Linked DNA regions of Homo sapiens: all the other regions are linked to region 1. Evidence: promoter capture Hi-C in 16 types of primary human blood cells and fetal thymus (Javierre and others, 2016). All regions are on one chromosome and are shown on one strand. Each heading gives the region's core, a stretch centred on a gene start or on the middle of the fragment in contact. The rest is flanking DNA. Distances are from core to core; before and after follow the strand shown. Region 1 holds the start of CD302 (CD302 molecule). Region 2 overlaps TANC1 (tetratricopeptide repeat, ankyrin repeat and coiled-coil containing 1). Region 3 overlaps TANC1 (tetratricopeptide repeat, ankyrin repeat and coiled-coil containing 1). Region 4 overlaps WDSUB1 (WD repeat, sterile alpha motif and U-box domain containing 1). Region 5 holds the start of TANC1 (tetratricopeptide repeat, ankyrin repeat and coiled-coil containing 1). Region 6 overlaps WDSUB1 (WD repeat, sterile alpha motif and U-box domain containing 1).

The links. Contacts are between HindIII fragments. The CHiCAGO score rates a contact against its expected background, and 5 or more counts as called.
Region 2: a contact is called between a fragment that was not itself captured here and the fragment with the promoter of CD302 in region 1, in 1 of 17 cell types (megakaryocytes). The highest score is 5.2, in megakaryocytes.
Region 3: a contact is called between a fragment that was not itself captured here and the fragment with the promoter of CD302 in region 1, in 1 of 17 cell types (erythroblasts). The highest score is 6.2, in erythroblasts.
Region 4: a fragment that was not itself captured here is called in contact with the fragment with the promoter of CD302 in region 1 in 1 of 17 cell types (erythroblasts); the score reaches 5.2 in erythroblasts.
Region 5: the fragment with the promoter of TANC1 here is called in contact with the fragment with the promoter of CD302 in region 1 in 1 of 17 cell types (megakaryocytes); the score reaches 5.8 in megakaryocytes.
Region 6: a fragment that was not itself captured here is called in contact with the fragment with the promoter of CD302 in region 1 in 4 of 17 cell types (endothelial precursors, total B cells, monocytes and 1 more); the score reaches 6.4 in endothelial precursors.

The regions. Positions count from the first base shown.
Region 1 is chr2:159,796,449-159,799,929 of GRCh38, reverse strand. It overlaps CD302 (CD302 molecule), which reads left to right and starts at 1,722. Exons shown (of 6, transcript NM_014880.5): 1 at 1,722-1,798. The coding sequence starts at 1,732. All of the region lies in intron 33 of LY75-CD302 (LY75-CD302 readthrough), which reads left to right. It overlaps LOC124906083 (a long non-coding RNA gene), which reads right to left. Exons shown (of 2, transcript XR_007087273.1): 1 at 1,978-3,481; 2 at 1-1,111. The HindIII fragment of the contact is 1,931 bases long and covers 440-2,370 here.
Region 2 is chr2:159,160,765-159,164,052 of GRCh38, reverse strand. It overlaps TANC1 (tetratricopeptide repeat, ankyrin repeat and coiled-coil containing 1), which reads right to left. Exons shown (of 27, transcript NM_033394.3): 8 at 507-770. Among named protein-coding and RNA genes, the nearest start is that of MIR6888, 24 kb to the left of the region's middle. The HindIII fragment of the contact is 1,261 bases long and covers 1,292-2,552 here.
Region 3 is chr2:159,219,396-159,222,630 of GRCh38, reverse strand. TANC1 (tetratricopeptide repeat, ankyrin repeat and coiled-coil containing 1) reads right to left here. Exons shown (of 27, transcript NM_033394.3): 22 at 2,764-2,939. Among named protein-coding and RNA genes, the nearest start is that of MIR6888, 34 kb to the right of the region's middle. The HindIII fragment of the contact is 1,654 bases long and covers 875-2,528 here.
Region 4 is chr2:159,259,019-159,262,470 of GRCh38, reverse strand. It overlaps WDSUB1 (WD repeat, sterile alpha motif and U-box domain containing 1), which reads left to right. Exons shown (of 11, transcript NM_001128212.3): 6 at 2,628-2,661. Among named protein-coding and RNA genes, the nearest start is that of WDSUB1, 26 kb to the left of the region's middle. The HindIII fragment of the contact is 1,720 bases long and covers 406-2,125 here.
Region 5 is chr2:158,967,142-158,970,249 of GRCh38, reverse strand. TANC1 (tetratricopeptide repeat, ankyrin repeat and coiled-coil containing 1) reads right to left here and starts at 1,610. Exons shown (of 27, transcript NM_033394.3): 1 at 1,468-1,610. RefSeq lists silencers at 1,575-1,654, 1,715-1,824. The HindIII fragment of the contact is 11,476 bases long and covers 1-3,108 here.
Region 6 is chr2:159,279,056-159,282,282 of GRCh38, reverse strand. It overlaps WDSUB1 (WD repeat, sterile alpha motif and U-box domain containing 1), which reads left to right. Exons shown (of 11, transcript NM_001128212.3): 3 at 2,338-2,522. Among named protein-coding and RNA genes, the nearest start is that of WDSUB1, 6.0 kb to the left of the region's middle. RefSeq lists an enhancer at 2,072-2,241. The HindIII fragment of the contact is 1,192 bases long and covers 1,205-2,396 here.

The sequences.
Region 1 (3,481 bases), core at 473-2,972:
TCTGTGTTCCATCTATTCATCCCCTCCTTCTTCCCACCCCAACCCCTGGCAACCATTTATCTTTTTACTGTCTCCATAGTTTTGCCTTGTCTAAAATGTCATATAGTTGGAATCATATAGTATGCAGTCTTTTCAGATTGGCTTCTTTCTCTTAGCAATACATATTTAAAGTTCTTCCATGTCTTTTTGTGGCTTGATAGCTCATTTAATTTTGGTACTGAGTAACATTTCATTGTTTGGATGTGCCATTGTTTATCCATTCACTTATTGAAGGACATCTTGTTTGCCTCTAGGTTCTGGCAATTATGAATAAAGCTGCTATCAACATTCATGTGCAGGTTTTTGTGTGTATGTAAGTTTTTAACTCATTTGGATAAATACCAAGGAGTTGTGATTGCTAGATGGTATGGTAAGAGTACGTTTAGTTTTGGAAGAAGCTTCCAAATTGTCTTCCAAAGTGGCTGTACCATTTTGCATTTGCACCAGCATTGAATGAGAGTTCTTTTTGCTCCACATCTTTGCCAGCATGTGGTCTTGTCAGTGTTTTTGGATTCTGGTATCTAATAGGTATGTAGTGGTATTTCATTTTTGTTTTCATATACAATTCAGCAATGACATATGATGTTGAGCATCTTTTCATCTATTTGCCATTATATAACTTCTTTGATGACGTGTGTATTCAGATCATCTGACCATTTTTTTTAACTGGGTCATTTGTTTTCACGTTGTTGAGTTTAGACTTGATTTTATAGAACTCTTTTGCCAATGACATGAGGCTTAAACAAGCACCCTTGCTTGACCCTGGCTAGTGTTGTCCAGAGGCCCTCATGGGTGAAGTATAATTGCACAGTTTATGCATACATTGTAGCAAACATAGCTTAAAGACTCTTCATCCAGGAGCTGGTAACAGAGAAAAGTTGTCTAAGAGACATAGTCCACTGAAAGGGGTCTTTGAAAAGGAGGATTCTGGCCAGTAGATCCAAAGAAGAAGGCTGGCAAACGCCACCTTAACCAACTGATCCAAGTTAACATCAGTGATGAGACATCGACATCTTGTCCTTCTCGAGCACGTACATCACTTCTGGGGAACTCTTTCCCAAAAAAGCGCAACCTGAATCCAATTAGAAGGAAATGTCAGACAAAATGAAACTGAGGGACATTCTACAAAACGACTGGCCAGTACTTTTTAAATGTGGTTTGATCGTGAAAGAAAAAGAATGACAGAGAACCGTCCTAGATTAAAGGGAGACTAAGGAGACACGACATGCAATGTATGATCCTGGATTGAATCTTGGAACAGAAAAGGACCCTTAGAGGGGCAATTAATGAAATGTGGTAAGTGCTGTAGATTAGCTAATCGCATTATCCCAGTGCGAGTGCCCTGTGTTTGATCACTGCACTGGCGTTATATACAATGTCAATATTTAGAGAAGCTGGCTGAAGGGTTACGGAAATCTCTTGTGCTGTTTTTGCAACATTTTCGAAAGTCCTAAATTATTTCAATTCAAATGAAAAGTTTAAAAAACAAAAATTAGAAGTTCCAGAAGGCCGCGCGCCAGCCGCTCCTGCGGGACGGGACACCCGGGTTCTCCTGGTGGGAGCCCCCAGTGCCGTTCACGTTCCGCCCGGGGGGGGGATTAAACTCGCACGCGAGAAGCACCGCCCCCGCTCCCGCCCCGCCCCGCTCCTCTCCGGCCGCGCAGCCGCTGCCGCCCACCCGCACCCGCCGTCATGCTCCGGGCCGCGCTGCCCGCGCTCCTGCTGCCGTTGCTGGGCCTCGCCGCTGCTGCCGTCGCGGGTAAGCCCTTACGTAGTCCCTCGCCGGGACCGTGCGCGACCGCCTTCGCCCCCTTCCCAACGCACGCTCTTCGTCCCCGCGCACCCGAGGGCGGCCCGCAGACGCAACACCCGGCCGGCCATCCCGCCCTTCCCTGCACGCCCGTCCCCCGTGGGTCCTGGCTCCGGGTCACCTCTCACCCGCCTGCCCTCGGGGAGGGGAGGTGGCCGAGAATAAGGGAGGGCTCTGTCTTCCTCGGAGTCCACATCCTCACCGCAGACCCCACTCCGCGGGGAGGGAACCCCCAAATTAGGCCAGTTGGCCGGAGAACTGAGGGACTTGGAGTCGCACGACGGGCGCCGTTTCAGGGCAATTTCGGGCTGAAATGAGAAGCGGGGACGTTGGTGGCGATTTCCCCTGCTGGTGCGCGGCCGGAGTGGGGTTGCTGGGATGGGGGTGGGGGCCGGAGGAAGTAGGCCCTCTTTTGCAAGCAGCGCTGTTTGTCTAGTTGGTTGGTGTTCAAGTTGTTTAAACAGGAAAACAGTTCAGCCAAATAACCCCTGGATGGAAGAGGAACGGGAATAGGCAAAGCTTGGATTTCACTGAAATCAAGGAGTTTTAAAGTTCTAGTCTGCTGTTGTGCAAGTGACATCTGAAAAATCACACACGTGATCATTCATTTACAAAACGACTCGTGAGGAAAATGCACAATTCTATTGACCGTGGTCTTTATTTTTAAAAAATTTCCATACAAGCATGTCAAAAATATGTGGATGGGGAGACTCTGGAGAACACAGACTTCCAAAAACACCACTGACTGAATAATTCCAGGAATTAAAGAGCAAAATAAACAAGAACTAAATGAGTACTTGTGTGGGCTTAAATAAAGTGCAAGAGATTTAAATAAAATGCAAGAGATTCCCCCCCCCCACCCCTTGCCCCAGATTTCACTGCGTTTTTATAATAACTGCCTGCTCGAAGTCTACTGACAGGAATATTTCAGTGGACCTCAGTGTTGGAGGCAGCAGCAGCTCAGAACTTGGATACAAACCCAAGGTTCCTTTCTTGAAAACTTCTGTGGACCTGCATTTATGACTGGTTGTGACATCTGCTGCCTATCAAAGGGGCAGAAACAAGATGTGCCCATGTTCACATTGTTCAGACTGGGAACATTAATTTTGTCTAAGACAAAGCTGGGCTGTCTCTGAACCCTCCTTCTGCACACCCTCATTTTGCGAGCCAGTAACATCTCAACTCTCATGTAAACCACCCTCTGCGAGGCTGTGCATTTGTACTTTAGGCTAGTCGAATTTTCTTGTCAGATTTTTCTTTCTTGTCAGACTTTTAAAGAAAATCAGTTTCTAGATTTTGGTATGTCTCTTCTTCAGTGAAGCTGTTTTGACCAGCAATAGAGGGCAAATTTCCCTTTGGAAATTTTTGTGCATTTCCTTTGATAAGTCCAGTGTGGATCAATAGGCTTTTCAAGAGCTTTAGAAAAGTGCATGATGAATAAATTAATGTTAATTAATCAGCTCCTCCCAGTCAGGAAGCTTTAAGGATTAATTTGGAAATGAGTGTGAGCTTTGACCTAGCTAGTTAACCAACTTATCTGCACTTCAGTAAAACAGAGATAATACTTACTCATGGGGCTATTGGGAGCATTAAGTGGGAACTCCACGTCTAGTCCCTATTACAGGCGTGGTT
Region 2 (3,288 bases), core at 673-3,172, 640 kb after region 1:
GAGCTCCTACTTCCACTGCTTACATTTTAAGCCGTGAGCTCCATTTTAACTAAATTGTACAGAAATTCGGCCCTCTTGCCTGTACAATCGGCCTCAATTAGACAAAAATAAGTTTGTAAGTTTGGTAAGAAGATCCTCGAGCTGATATTAACAAACTCACTCAACAATTCCCATTTACCAGGAGGTAATAAACAGTAATGAATTTTCTAAGGCTTAAAACAAAAACCGAGAGGAGAGTTTTTATACTTTCTTCTCTTATATACAAAGAGCCTGACAGTCCAAATAATCGATTTAAAGAATTCCAGAGCAGAAGGATCACTTAAAGACCATTAAGTACAGCCTTATTGTGTTTACAGATTAGTAAACTGAGGCTTAGAAAAGGTAAGTGCCTGACCCACGGCCACGAAGCTGGCTTGTATCTGGAGTGTCTTCCCATGTGAAGACAGTGAACACAGGGCACCTTGGTATCCCTGAGATAATCCTTCCAGGGAAAGGTGTGGCCTTACCTGCAACTGAGTTGGGCCGTGGCATTATTAGTGAGCTGGAGCCCTGAGAATAAGGGACTGGACCATCTCCAGCTGAGGATTCTGCTTTGGGCAGCGTGCTCTCTGCTGACCCGGTGGTCTCCTCTTCTGCCACTGGGGAGCAGTTATCTGCCCTGCGGTCATGAAGCACTCCCTTCTGAACCCCTAATCTTAGGTTTCCATCTTTATTCCATTCCAAACTGGAGCCACTCCGGTCATCATTTTCGGATGAACTTGTAATTGTGGCTGAAATGAAAGACCAAAATACTTTGAAGGAGGCCAGGCACAGCTGGGGCTGAAGAATTAAAACATGCACACTGCCCTCCCCAGGATCAATGGAAAGTTTTCCAGTCCACACAGATTTTTATCAAAGTATGTTCCATACAATGTATTTTGGTAAATTAGAAGAATGTGGCTTACCAGGGGAAATAAGCTGCTAAATCACTCTACAGAGAAGAGGAGCGAGGGAGAAACTCTGATAGGAAGATAATGAAAAAAATTGTCTAAAAAGTATCAGAGTTAAGAGTAAAATTATGTAACCTGGAGATAATGTATCCTCTTTTTAACAAAGATTACTCACAAAAGAATTCATTTCTCATTAAATTCCTTTGAACCTTTAAATATACTTTCCAAATTAAAAACATTTGCTGGGGGTGGGGGAGTGGGAACAAACAACAGAATGGTTAATGCAGAAACGGTGCAGGAGAAAATCTTTAGAAACAAAAATACAATTATAAAGTCAAACAGAGAATTTGACCCTTAAAGCTTATAACATCTATTCAAGATGATCCAGAGAGACTGACTTATTATTTCCTCAGCAACACGAAATGGAAAACCTTCCCATATCCAGCGCAGGTGAAGTACCAGCAGGAGAAGGTATACTATGACTGCAGAATTCACATTTAATCTCCAAGAAAGAAAACCAGCACAGAAAAAAGGTACAAAAAACCTTTTGTAAACATCTTGGCAAAAGAGCAGAAAGAACATGGTCAAAAAGCGAAGCAATACTCACCCTACATAGCTTCTACAAAGAGTCACTTCTAATTTAAAGATGCTGAGCCATATGGGATCCCCTTGCAACCACAGGTCATCATCACCTGGGCCACTCACACTGCCCCACTGTTAGAACTAACGCTGGCTGCGTCCTTGAGAACAGGGGCCATGTCCACCGATGCCTCTTTCCCTATCTGGATTCCAGTCACCTAGGCCCTCAACTCCACGCCTGTTAAATGGGAGTGCACAGGGCCAAAGTGCATTCAGAACCCAGCTCCTGGATCAGGCTGCTTTAGCCACACACCAAGATGATACACACTGTATCAGAAGGCTGGTAAATTAGCTCAGGGTCAGTTATTTAGGATCAAAGGGTCTGAAGGGTTTAGCTTTGTTTATATTCTTTACGGTTTAGAAGTAAAGACAAAACTATTTCCTTGCAGTGGCCCAGGACATCCTGTCACAATTCTGACTGTCTTTACTCCTCCTGCTGCTGCAGCCTGGACTTATCACCCTCTCTGGTTGCCTATTTTAAAAAATCCCACATAAATGCTGAAGCCTTCCCTAGAGTATCCATGGCTATCTTTTCCTTTTCTGAATAGCACAGCACAGCACATAGTAAGTGCTCAATAAATGCTTGCTAATTGAATGAATGAGCAAATGAATAAACTTCAATTCCATTTGTGGTCAGAGACACTACACTTAATCTCACTTACCAGAGTTCAGGATCTGATTTTGGGTGCCCATCGTTATGATTCCCAGCATTTGCCAGTGTTCCATCAGCAGTATTAAACCATACCTCCACCTCTTTGGAATCAATCACAGCCTTCCTTGTGTTTTTAAATAGACCATTTATATGAACATAGGCATAGCAAGTATGACTCTTTCTATCATAAAAATGCCAATGGTGGTGTTGACAGCAGAAGCTAGCATTTACTGAAGGTTTGCTATATGCTAGAAGTGTGCTAATGTTTTTCAGGAGTGGTCTAATTTATTGATAAGATTATTGCTTATTAATGGTAATCCTGTTAATAAGCTTGAAGCATAAAAATGGGGGCCATCCCATAACACAGATTGTGGTGTTACAAACCTTCACATTTAAATCCAGCATTTGCAACTCAAAATGCTTTTCTCAGACATATTGTAATAAGTTAGGTTCACAGGCTACTCCAACATCCAAGTGACAGGAAGAGTTCCAGGCTAGGGAGATAGGGGATTTGTTTGGTTTTATTTTTGTGGCTGTTACATTGGAAAGCACGTATTTGTAAATTGAAAAATTAAACCAAAAGTCAAAGTGCTCTCCCTAAGTGCCAAGCACTTCTGAATCAAACCCCAAAGATCTGAGTCCTAACTAGGACCTCAAGCAGGGGAAATAAGGACTTAGCTCACTTCCTGTTACAAGTGACAGCACTGCAATCAGGACCTCAGGGACCCATGGAGCAGCTGAGGATGGCTGGGAAGGCCAGGTCAGAGCTCCTGATGGCAGGACAGGTGGAAGGTGTGGCTCTCACTGGCAGACATGTGCCCTACACTGTGCCCAGCATCTCGTGGAGGGGGAGAGGGGGCGGAGGGGTAACACTCAGGTCCTGGCAGGGAGAGGAAGGAAAAGGGGTGGGGGAGGAAGGGCTCAGCTGCAGGAGCAGTCACTGCGAAGAGAAGTCCCAGATGGGGTAACCATTTAGAAATGAACATATTGTAAGGTCAGTGTTTATATGAAGGAGACTAGTGAGGAAGAAGAGGCAGCCCTTCTGCTGCCCTCACAAAGTTCCTGTGA
Region 3 (3,235 bases), core at 452-2,951, 580 kb after region 1:
CTGGATAAACGAGATGTGGTGTATACGTACAATGGAGCAATATTCATCCTTACAAAGGAAGGAAATGCTATTCTAACACACGCTACAACATGGGTGAACCTGGAGAACATTATGCTATGTGAAATAAGCCAGTCACAATGAGACAAATACTATATGATTCTACTTACATGAGATATCTAAAGGGGTAAAAAAACTCACAAAGTAGAGTGGTGGCTGTGATGGGCTGGGGGAGATGGAGAGTTGTTTAACAAATACAGTTTCACCTTTGCAAGATGAAAAGTTCTGGATACTGGTTGTACAACAATGTGAATATACTTAAACTACTGAACTCTATATGTTTAGAAATGATTAAGGGTAAATTTTATGCTATGTGTTTTTGCCACGGTATTAAAAAAATTATGTTGGAATGCTAAGCTCCTTCACTCTTCTCTAATTTTGATAAACTACACAATGTGGGAAGGTAGCTGAAAAATAAGTGTAGACATGTGAGATTTAGTTGAGTATGTTTTTGAAAACTGACATGAAGTAGAGTTTACAAGGTACTGAAGTTTATACCATTGAACTCTGACAGCGCTGCCTTCTAAAAGCACCAAGGCACAGAGGTACAGGGCCATGGCTTCCACTGCCAGGTTTGCAAGCATCTGTCTCTCCAGCTAGTCCTTCCATTAGATGTATTGAATTATTGGAAACTGGTAACTCTCATGTAGCTGACCATTTCTCTGGCACCTGCTGGGTGCCTGGGACATGGAGCCTGATAAAATCAGTTTCTGCCCTGAAAGACATTTCACGGTTCTCAGTTTATCAAGGTTTTATTCCCTCAAACCTCGATTAGACATGGGCATTTGGCAAAGAGATAAAGATAGTGCCCAAAGCTTTCCATATTATTTTTAGGCAATGCCATATCACTTTAAAAACAACCAGTATATGTACATGATGAAATACTATGCAGGCTTTAAAATAAGGAAATCCTGTCATTAGCCACAACATGGATGAAGCTGAAGGACATTATGGCTAAGTGAAATAAGCCAGGCACGGAAAGACAGCATGATCTCACTTATATGTGGAATCTAAACAAGTTGAACTCACAACAGAAGCAGAGAACAGAAAGAGGCTGGGAGACAGGGGGACCTGCGGAAAGGGTAGGCACCGGTCAAAGGGTACGAAGATTCAGTTAGACAGGAGGAGTAACTTCTGGTATCTACTGCACAGTACTGCAACTAGAATTAATAACTTTTATTTATTATTTTTTTGAGACTGAGTCTCACTCTGTTGCCCAGGCTGGAGTGCAATGGTATGATCTTGGCTCACTGCAGCCTCCACCTCCCGGGTTCAAGTGATTCTCGTGCCTCACCCTTCTGAGTAGCTGGGATTACAGGCACCCGCCACCACGCCCAGCTAATTTTTGTATTTTTAGTAGATACTAAAATAGTATCTACTAGTTCACTTGATCTCGAACTCCTGACCTCAAGTTCGCTTAATCTCGAACTCCTGACCTCAAGTGATCTGCCCATCTTGGCCTCCCAAAGTGCCGGGATTACAGGCATGAGCCACCGCACCCGGCCAGTAATGTATTCTTTATTTCAAAATAGCTAAAAGAGATCTCAAATGCTCTCACCAAAAAGAAATACTATTTGGGTGATGGATACATGAATTAGCCTGATTTGATCATTCCACAATGTGTACAAGTATCAAAACATCACTGTACCCCATAAATATACACAATCATTTGTCAATTAAAAATAAAACTTTGTCCGGGCATGGTGGCTCATGCCTGTAATCCTACCATTTTCAGAAGCCAAGGTGGGGTGATCACTTGAGCCCAGGAGTTCGAGACCAGCCTGGGCAACATGGTGAAAAACCGTGTCTCTAAAAATTAGCCAGGTACGGTGGTGCATGCCTGTATTCCCAGCTACTCAGGGGGCTGAGGTGGGAGGACCTCTTGAGACCAGGAGAACAAGGCTGCAGTCATCACACCACTGCACTCCAGCCTGGGCAACAGAGCAAGACTGTGTCTCAAAAATTAATAATAAGCCAGGTGCAGGGGCTTACGCCTGTAATCCCAGCACTTTGGGAGGCTGAGGCAGGCGGATCATGAGGTCAGGAGTTCAAGACCAGCCTGGCCAACATGGTGAAACCCTGTCTCTACTAAAAATACAAAAATTAGGCATGGTGGTGCATGCCTGTAATCCCAGCTACTCAGGAGGCTGAGGCAGGAGAACTGCTTGAACCCAGGAGGCGGAAGTTGCAGTGAGCCGAGATCGCACCACTGCACTCCAGCCTGGGCAACAGAGCAAGACTCCATCTTGGGAAAAAAAAATTAATAAATTAAAAACAAAACAACTTAAAAAAAAAAAGCAACCAGGTAGTCATTTGATTAGTCACTTACCATATATAAAAGTAGTTTCTAAATGATCTATGCAAAAGTTTTATTTATATGGATGACTGAGAAAATCACATATGCACATGTGTATGCATATTCACGTATGTGTCTGTTGTATGTGCTATTTGCAAGCAGGTATTTTTAAGCTTTTAAGAGTCGACTAAAATCTTAAGTCCTGGAATAGACTGCATGTCACAGAATTAGAGAAAAATGAAAGATCCCTGACAAGACACACACACACACACACACACACACACACACACACACACACACTCTCTGATGACACTGAGACACAACCTCATGCAGGCCCTGGATTGAGCTGTTCACTTCCTGGGGTTTCTTTCCAATGCAGGTGGAGGTGGGGAACACCTGCTGGTACTCACAGTCTCGGCATCGCCATAGAAGGCAGCCAGGTCCAAGGGTGTGCGGCCATTCTTGTCTGTCTGGTCTATTGCAGCTCCTTCTTCAACCAGATACTGGACCACTGCCCTGTGACCTTTCAGACAAGCCCAGCTTAATGCTGACAGACCCTCTTTGTCTAGAGAAGAAAGGGCTGCACCTGAAAGGAAAGCCCATTCACAGAACATGAACATTATGAGATGACAAAGCCAGAAAGCAAATTGTTTCACACCTGCGGAACACCCGGCCTGAACCAAGTGTCAGTCAAGCACTGTGAAGGGTGACACTGGCCGGATGGGCTGGCAGAATGGTCATCGCTGCTGAAGAGGAATACCAGGCATGTGGCTGTGTTGCCTATTCTCTCTACTGTTTATTAGAAAATTTCCATTAACAGAAAACTTAGAATTTGAATCAGAAAGCACTGAATGGGTCTGCTGAAGTTCTCTCTGTGTCCGT
Region 4 (3,452 bases), core at 16-2,515, 540 kb after region 1:
CTTCTCAAATTCCTTTTTATACCTCATCAGCAAGTGAACTTATTCCACTGCCCTCATGGCTAGCTGTGGCCTGTGAAATCGTCCAGATTCCTTGGGCAGACACTCAGGGTGCTTTGTATTTTTGTTCGGGGCTGTGTTTTCAGCCTTACTGCTTGCCGTTCCCATATGTGGACTCTTGCCTGTCGCACTGATTTCTGTCTTCCCAATCCAATGCTCATAGAGATCACTAAGGATAATCCTGCTTATTAAGTGATGAGTTGGTTTGAATTGTCTCTGGTGGTAGTCTAGGAAAGTGGGATTTCTTTTTAATTTTGGGGTTTTGTTTTTGATTTGTGGTACCAATGAGGATTTTATTTGAGACAGTGTAATGGGGGCCAGATGAGAGAACCATTTTCTTTGTAAGCTTAGCATGGCTGGGCTCTAGCCAGCTCCAGATGAAATTTTGGCTAATTATCCCTTTAGAAAAGTCAGGCTTAAGCAGAACTGGGCTCTAGGTCAATTAACCAAAAGCCAGTTCACCCAATGACCAGTTCATTTATTTAAAAAAAAAAAAAAAAAAAAAAAAAAAAAAAAATATATATATATATATATATATATATATATATATATATATATATATATATGAGTTTCAGTTGACCAGTTTTCCTTTCATCTCATCATATAATCTTGAAAAGTAATATTTAACATGCTCCTGACCCCCAGCCATGTAGCTATAGCTGGAGACCTGGTTTTCTTAGCTGTTATGAAAGTATTTTTGTGTGTGTGTGGATACTTTTTCAAATTGATGTCCCTGTGAGGGGACAAGCATGGGAAGTTATACTCTGCCATCTTGCTGACATCACTCTTTAGTTGTGTGTGTGTTTTAAGGATGCTCAAAATAGCAGAATTTGGCCTAAGAATTTCAGATATTTCACAAATAAGAACTTGTACCTTGAAGAACTTAGGATTAAATAAAAGTGTCTGTAAATTATGTCCATCACATACATACTCACGTAGTGTTAGCTGTCAATACTATTTCTCACTGTATTTTGGATGCAGTTTAACATTGAAAGCTATAATTCTTTTTGCATCTGGAATGCATTACAGTTATCCGTTGGTATCTGCAGGGGATTGGGTCCAGGACTGCTACCTTGGATACCAAAACCTGTGGATGCTCAAGTCCCTTATATAAAATGGTGTGATATTTGCATGTAACCTACACACATTATCCATATACTTTAAATCATCTCTAGATTACTTATAATACCTAATACAATGTAAGGGCTATGTAAATAGTTTTGCAGTATTTTTATTTGTATTATTTTTTGTTATTTTTTTCCTATTTCAATTTATTATGTTTTTCTTGAATATTTTGATTCATGGTTGAATTCACAGATAGGAAACCTGTGGATATGGAGGGCTGACAGTATATGCTTCCCAAGTTCTTGTGTTTTATTTTATATCTTTGAACTTTTAAAGTATAATTTCTATTTTGAACTTATGACAAAGATTCTGTAGTCAGTATCCATCATCAACATTGGAGGGTCTACTGAACAAGGAATTTTAAGCTAATAGGTGTGAATCCTGTGGTCAGACTGTGATCAGCTCCCTTAATAAGTACAAATATTAATGTTCTGCAGAGTGTGGTACCACTTGTATTGCAGATGTTTTTTCACCTTGTAGTGTATATTGTTCTGGCATAAAAGCCTGTTTCCAAGGGGGGTAGAAATGCCAGATAGAGGCATATTTATCCATTGTTTTAAATTACTCATTTTGTTATAATGTTGTATTTTTGTGTGTGTGATGTTCTTTTTCTTTGCTAGCATAACCCCAGATGTCTGCTTTTAATTTTTATACCATTACAAGGAATCATGTAGTCAACATCAAGTTTAGAATTATAATTTTCAAAAATGGATCATAATCAAAACATATATACATTGATTAGCATTTAAGGCACGCCTTATCAATGGTAAAGAATAGTGCTATCTGAAACAAAACCAAGTAGCAAATAATAGCTTTTCCTTGTGGTTTTTCCCATTCAGTTACTAACTTGTTATAGAGTCGTGTTTTATTTATATATCAGAGATGCTTGTTCTGTTCATGGTCATGTAGCGTAAATAGTATATACTATTGTTTTAATAAAGCTTATAATTTTCTAAATTTTATATATGGCATGTTGTTTTTTTTGAGATAGAGTCTCACTTTGCCACCCAGGCTGGAGTACAGTGGCATGATCTTGGCTCATTGTAACCTCCACCTCCCAGGTTCAGGCCATCCTCTTGCCTCAGCTTACCAAGGAGATGGGATTACAGGTGCACGCCACCATGCCCGGATAATTTTTTTCTGTATTTTTAGTAGACATGGGTTTCACCATGTTGGCCAGGCTGGTCTCAAACTCCTGACCTCATGATCCGCTCGAATCAACCTCCCAAAGTGCTGGGATTACAGGCGTGAGCCGCTGCGCCTGGCCACGTGTAGTTTTTTGAATTAAAGTTTTCATGCATATGAACAAAAGGATTGCATTCTAAATGTATGTTAATATCTGTCTTTTCTAGAAAAGTTACTAAAATTACTTAAAAATACTAATTACATAAATGCTGTACTTTGTTTTTATAGAACTTTTCACCTATAATTTATTTTCTTTTAAGGTCAGTGGATAAGTCTGTCATAGTATATGATACTGTAAGTATTTAAAAATCTTGTGGTGATCTATGAAAGTTATGTTTATTAGACTACTGAACTTCAAGTTAGGCCTGGTAGAAAAAGTATATATTTTTTCTGTTTAGTATGACTAAGAACATAAATATTTTCACAAATGCTAAAATAGTTACGCAAGTAAGATATTGGTTCTGCAACAAGCCCTTAAATATTTCAGTAATGATTTTAAGATGGATAGATTTTAAATGTGATCATAAACTATACATATTTAAAGAGCACCAGTGTTCAAAACATCACATACAATCAATTATTAAACTTTTACACCAGGCTTCCATAATAGCAAAGGATGAATGTTTACCCTAGGGTTTTTGGTGAATATGGTTGAAAGTGACCTACCATTCTTAGAGTCCTGGCTGGATTTAGGGAGAGGCATAAGAAAGGATAGGTTATCATGGACTTGGAAAATGGGAGTTTTTTACTGATCCATGTGTGGGTAAAGACCAAGTTGTGGCCGGGTGCAGTGGCTCACACCTGTAATCCCAGCATGTCAGAAGGCTGAAGCAGGCAGATGGCTTGAGTCCAGGAGTTTAAGACCAGCCTGGCCAACATGGTGAAACCTCATCTCTACCAAAAATACAAAAACTTAGCTGACCGTGGTGGCGCGTCCCTGTAGTCCCAGCTACTTGGGAGTCTGAGGCAAGAGGATGGCTTGAACCCCGGAGGTGGAGGTTGCAGTGAGCCGAGATTGTGCCACTGCACTCCAGCCTGGGCAACAGAGTGAGACCCTGTCTCAAAAATAAAGTAGTTGAAAAAAA
Region 5 (3,108 bases), core at 361-2,860, 830 kb after region 1:
GGTGAAAGCAGAGACGCAGACTCCCTTCATTTCCACTACAGAGAAATACCAGCCCTCTGTGCCAACTAACCAGGTTTCTCCTTTCCTCTCCCACCCCCACCCCTCCAAACACGCATTAACTTCTGCAGTCTGGTGTGTCTGGCATTTCCAGAGCGAGCGATCTCAGCAATCTTGAGCCCTTTCCTCAAAGATTCTGAACCAGGAACTTCCTTTCCGCGCCAGCCAGAGTTTGCGGTCCAACCCACGTTAAGACTCAGCTTCCATTTACCTTGTAACCTGTACGGACGACGCTGCTTCTGGGGTCAAGTTCAAGATGAAAGTTCCCTCCTCACCTCCCAAGTTAACTCCAGCAGGGAACAACGCCACTGAGAACGGTCCCAACACTGGAGGCACGCGGATCTGGAGCTGGCAGGAGGGGGCTGGGAGAAGGCCGTTGCCGAGCCTGGCGTCCTCCGCCCCTTGGCCGCAGCGCCGCGTTTCTACCTGGCCAACGCCACATTTCCTCCCGGAGCTTTACACAATAAGTCCAGTAAGTTTTGAGAACACCGGTCCAGGGACCTTTCTGTCTGCAAACACACCACACAATGCCTAGAGCTTCCTTCCCAGCCAGGCGTTCCGGAAAGCCGCCGCGCCAAAGCCGGGAGCCCCGCACACCCACAGCGCTGCGCGCCCGCACCCCAAAGTCCTCCAGGAAGCCAGTGCCCTGATATCGTCCCCCGAAAATGACCACTCTGCATCCAAGAACAAGGGGGCTCACAATCTTGACAATTACCGCTCTTCTCAGCGCCCCACCCCTAAAGAAAAACCCCCAACGTCTAATCCTAACTCACCCCCACCCCCAATAAAGGAGTGTGGATATGCTAATCGCAGTGTTCTTGGAAGCAAAGCAATAGACTTTCAGCCCAGACTGGGGCAATACCATGCCTCCGGCTTAAGTTCTCTCGGCAACTTCGCGACCCGCGCACCCCAACACTCCGGGGGGCGCCCAGGACCCCGCGGTGCCAGGCGCGCCTCCCCCCGCCTCCCCCGCGCCAGGTACCAGGCGTAGCCCAGGCCCTTGCCAAGCCCGAGGGCTACAGAGAAGGCGGGAAAGGGGGCGAGCGGGCGCGCCGGGCGGGGGTGGTCCCAGAACTCGAGCGTGCCCCAAGCGTTCCCGGTTCCCACCACACCGGTTCCAGGGGAGGCCGGCTCGGTCCGGCGCGGGGGAACCGCGCAAGGAAGGTGCGGACTCCCCAAAGCCGCCGAGAGACCAAGGCCCGGGGCGCCCAACATGTCTGTGCCTATTCCCGGAAAGCTCCCGGGTGTGCCCGGCGGAGGAGGGGGCGCTCCAGAAACTTTCCCACACGCCTTTCCCTTCTCCCATCACCCTCTCCACCCCGGGTCCCTCTCGACCTCTCCGCACACTGGCAGCTGGCCATGCCCGGGGCGCTCGCAGGCCCGCGGCGGAGTCCGGGCTGCGGGAGTTACCTGCCGGGAAAGTTTCCAGCTCCTCAGCGCGGTTCCCCACACCCAGGGCCGGGCCTCGGGGCGAGGCCAGCTCGGCGCTCCGCGGCTGCCTCTCCTCCGGCTCCCGAGGCGGCCGCCGCTCCAGCAGCTGCCACAGCAAAGCCTCCGCTCCGGCCCGTCCCCCCGCCTTGCTCGGCCCACACCGGGGCCTCATTGGCAGCGCGAATCCCCGCCCTTGCGCGTGTTCCCGAAGGCACCTTCCTCTCGCGCGCCCGCCCCGGCCGCGCCTCCCGCGCCCCTCCCCGCCCCGGGCTGCGGCGGATCCAGGGACCGGCTGGAGCGCGGAGCGCGAACTTTCCGCGGGGCTTGGGCGCGAGGTCCCCTTGTCCCGCCTCTCGGCGCCAGGTCCGGGCCTGAAGCACCCTACCATCCCTCTGGGCACCGGGTCCCCCGGGGCTGCGCCTAGGCCCCTCTGGGACCAAAATGAGATGGGCCATAGTCTTTTTTACAGCCTCTTCAAAATCAATAAAGCGACCCGGCCTTCCCTCCTCGCTGCTTTTTTACCACAGCCGAGGAGGACATATGGGAGCAATTAACCGAGCTGGAGTTTCCGTGGACGCTTTGGGGTGGCTTGTGCGGCTTTCTTGGATTTTCTCTGCCTCACTTAACTACACACAAACACAAACACACTTTCTGGGGCCAGAATCAGCTAAATGAGCTGGAAGGTCTAAGAAGGCATCTCACCGGCTGCGTCTTTTTATTTCCCAAAAGGAATGGGGGACGTTCTGGGGCCGGTGATTTCCCGGGCGTCCCTGGGGCCGCGGGTCTGGAGCCTCCTGCGACCGCTCCGGGCTGGCCCGTGCTGTCTGCGCTACATTCACAGAGGGCCAGCGTCGTGCTTCTGTCGGAAGGAGGTGGGAGGGACGGAGGGGAGAGAACACACAAAGATGCTATTATTTTGTCGGTTGGTGGCAGTAAATTAAACTCCTGAGTTCCCAAAATGTTTTGTTATTCTCCAGCAGAGCAAAAACCAGGATAGGGACTAGGGATTCGGGTGTCCTGGGTTCTCCAAGATCCTCCCAGGAATCCCAGGCAGCCAAATTGGCCTAAGGGACTCTGCTCACTTAATACCCGAAGCTCTCTAAGACAGCCTTCGTTGATCTAGTTGACGAAGGAAGGATCAACTAGAACTGCCGCTGCCTTGTGTGGCCAGCGGGAATTGTGCACGGGTCACCCCATTGGTGTGTCTGGAGCAGAGAATAGAGAAGTTGCTGTAAACCGATTTATTGGTAACCCCTAACCTTGCTGTGGCAAACCCGCCTTAAAATACGATTGTGTTTTAAACAAGTTTCCTCATAAAAACTTCAACCTCACGCAGAGCTTCCCTATATAAAGACACCAGCAGGAGGGGTGTCCATATTTAAAGTTCTTATGAAAAGGGACAGGAAGCAAAATGCCACACAATCTCTTTTCATAAATTAAAAAGACTGAAATGGACTGGATTTTTCACCCATAGTTTCAAAGGCCTGATTACTGCTGTGTTGATATTTGAGCAGTAAACACATCAGCGGCCTTGAAGTATTCCCGAAACAAGGCAGGATAGAATATTGAAAATAAAAATACAAACTTAAACCAGAAAACTATTGACTTCTTTCTCCATCT
Region 6 (3,227 bases), core at 551-3,050, 520 kb after region 1:
AGGCGGAGCTTGCAGTGAGCCGAGATCACACCACTGTACTCCAGCCTGGGTGACAGACCGAGTCTCCGTCTCAAAAAAAAAAAAATTTTTTTTAACTGGCCTTCTAAAGGTCAAAAACCCAGAGAGTTGTTTAATATGATTCTTATAGTAGATTTGCTTAGCGCCAATCTTAAAATTAAGAGTTAATCTTGTTAGACTTTTATGGTTTTTTTTTTAATTGTAAGAGTTAAAGCAGTATTTTGAAGGTTCAGTAATTTTAGGCTTTATTTTTGTCACTTGTGGTTTAAGTGTTTTCTTTCTTTTTTGAGACAGAGTTTCACTCTTGTTGCCCAGGCTGGAGTGCAGTGGTGGGATCTCAGTTCACTGAAACCTCCACCTCCCAGGTTCAAGCGATTCTCCTGCCTCGGCCTCCCGAGTTGCTGGGATTACAGACTCCTGCCACCATGCCCAGCCAGTTTTTTGTATTTTTAGTAGAGACTGGGTTTCCCCATGTTGGCCAGGCTGCTCTTGAACTCCTGACCTCATGTGATCCACCCGCTTCAGCTGGCTTCCCAAAGGGCTGGGATTACAGGTATGAGCCACTGCGCCCGGCCCATAGTATGTAAAGCTTTAATAGTATGTAAAGCTCAGCTAAGAGATGCAGTTATTTCTGTGACTGCAATTCTTGCTGGATGAATGACCAAGCCCAGAAGAAGGAACCTCATGCCTGGTGTGGTGGTGATGTGTTATCATTTCTTAAAAACTCGCCTGAAAAACTCTTTTGGAAAAAACCAATTAATTTACATTGGTAATGTTGTATTGCAATTTAACAACATTAAAACTATTCACATTTATTTATATTGTGGCAAAATATACGTAACAGAAGTTATCATTTTTATTAGCTAGGCGTGGTGGCGTGTGCCTGTAGTCCTCGCTACTCCAGAGGCTGAGGTCAGAGGATCGCCTGAACCCAGGTGTTTGAGGCTGCAGTGTGCTAGGATTGCACTACTGTACCCCAGCCTGAGTGACTGAGTGACCCTGTCTCAAAAAAAAAAGTTAAAATTTTCACGCTAACACTTTTAGATGACATTAAGTACATTAGAAACCATGCGCTTTTAAGTAATTACCAATTAAAAGAGCCTAGTGTACCTCCCCCTCCTTCTGTCTCCCAACATCTTTTAGAGCACAAATGCTAGTTGGTCAACAACTATTGCTCATTTAAGCTTAGGTCTTTGGGTTGAAGAGGGTGACATGTTTTAAGTGGTGTTAATAAACACTTATGCCAAATATCTTTTTTATATGCATGAAATCCAGCTGTCAACTAGGAATCTTACTTATCCAATGATGACTTCTGGCTCTATAGCATAACTATCCCTAAACTATGTAATTAATTATATATAAATGATAGATACCCTGCTGGATGGGACAGTGTGTTAATTGTTGGGTTTTTAACAGCTTATTTTTCCTAATTGAGCAAATACTAATACTTCAGCACCGTGCCTCCCTGTCTTCCTAACGTAATTTTAACTTGCCCACAGCATTTTCCTTTCATAAATAATTTATATTTGAAGACCTCGCCATTGCTTCTGGGTAATTTTTTTTTTTTTTTTTTTGAGACGGAGTCTCGCTCTGTCGCCCAGGCTGGAGTGCAGTGGCGGGATCTCGGCTCACTGCAAGCTCCGCCTCCCGGGTTCACGCCATTCTCCTGCCTCAGCCTCCCAAGTAGCTGGGACTACAGGCGCCCGCCACTACGCCCGGCTAATTTTTTGTATTTTTAGTAGAGACGGGGTTTCACCGTTTTAGCCGGGATGGTCTCGATCTCCTGACCTCGTGATCCGCCCGCCTCGGCCTCCCAAAGTGCTGGGATTACAGGCGTGAGCCACCGCGCCCGGCCACTTCTGGGTAATTTTTAATACAGACGTTGTAAGTACCTTTGACTCCAATAACATATTTTCCAATAAAAATAGTTTTATCTTACCTTTTTTAAAAAATATGGCTGTAGTTGATGTTGCTTGTCATTGCTTTTCTGGTTAAGTTTTACATATTTTAATGTGTTTATACTGATTTGCCCTGTGGAAAAATATGAAGATATGTGGACTTTGGTTTGTAATTTAGGCTTGAACATACCAGTTAAAATGTTTAAGGGAGGATATTTAAATCCTCCCTTGCTTTTAGACAGTATATCTCAGTTCATAGCATATAAATGATATTTTATTTCTGTAGGCATCAGTTGTCCTTTCTCTCTAGTTCTGTGATAGCCATTTATTCTCTTTTCACTGTATCAAGCTGCTGTTAGAGACTGTGGTATAAAGTAAAGGATACTCTGAAATGAAAACCCACTTTTTGCTTTTATTTCAGATGTGGTAGTGTTAAAGATGGCTCCTTGGCGGCATGTGCATTTTCTCCTAATGGAAGCTTCTTTGTCACTGGCTCCTCATGTGGTGATTTAACAGTGTGGGATGATAAAATGAGGTGTCTGCATAGTGAAAAAGCACATGATCTTGGAATTACCTGCTGCGATTTTTCTTCACAGCCAGTTTCTGGTTGGTTATTTTATTCTTTTAAGCACTAGAAATTCCTATTTGTAATTTGTGCTGTATATGACTTTTCATTCTTTTATTCTTTTTTATGTTATCATTAGTAGAGTGAGGAGCCCTCTTAATTTATTCCTGTAAAGGGATTATCCTTCTCTCTTTTTTGACCAAAAATGAAATCATGAAAAAATATATGAGAAAATTGCATTCTTTTTTTTTGGTCTTGGAGTTTCCTGCAAGAAAATTACATTCTTTATTATATGCAGGGGGTGGCTCAAATTGGTACAACAGATTCAGATTCCTTGGATATGGCAATTTAGAGGACCTAACCCTATTGATACAATTGCAATTAAAAGAACACTATATTGATATTCAAGTAGAAATGTAAACTTTAAAAATTGGAAATAGAAGCTGTGTTTTCCATTTACTAATTTAATCTTCGAAAAGCTAAATTTATAAAATGTTTGCCAACACAATTAGTTTTTTAGAAATAAACAGAACTCCTGAATGTAGTCTCTTGGTTTTAAATAGGTACAGTGATTTGGAAAGTTCTTTCTTTAGAGTTTTCATTTTCCGTGTTAGTGGATGGGAGTTCTGTAGCTTTTGTCCCCCTGCAGTCTTGTTACCAGACCAGTGCTATCCATAACAACGTAATGCAAGCCACTTAGGAAAATTTAAAATGTAGTAGTAGATGAAATTAATTAATAATATATC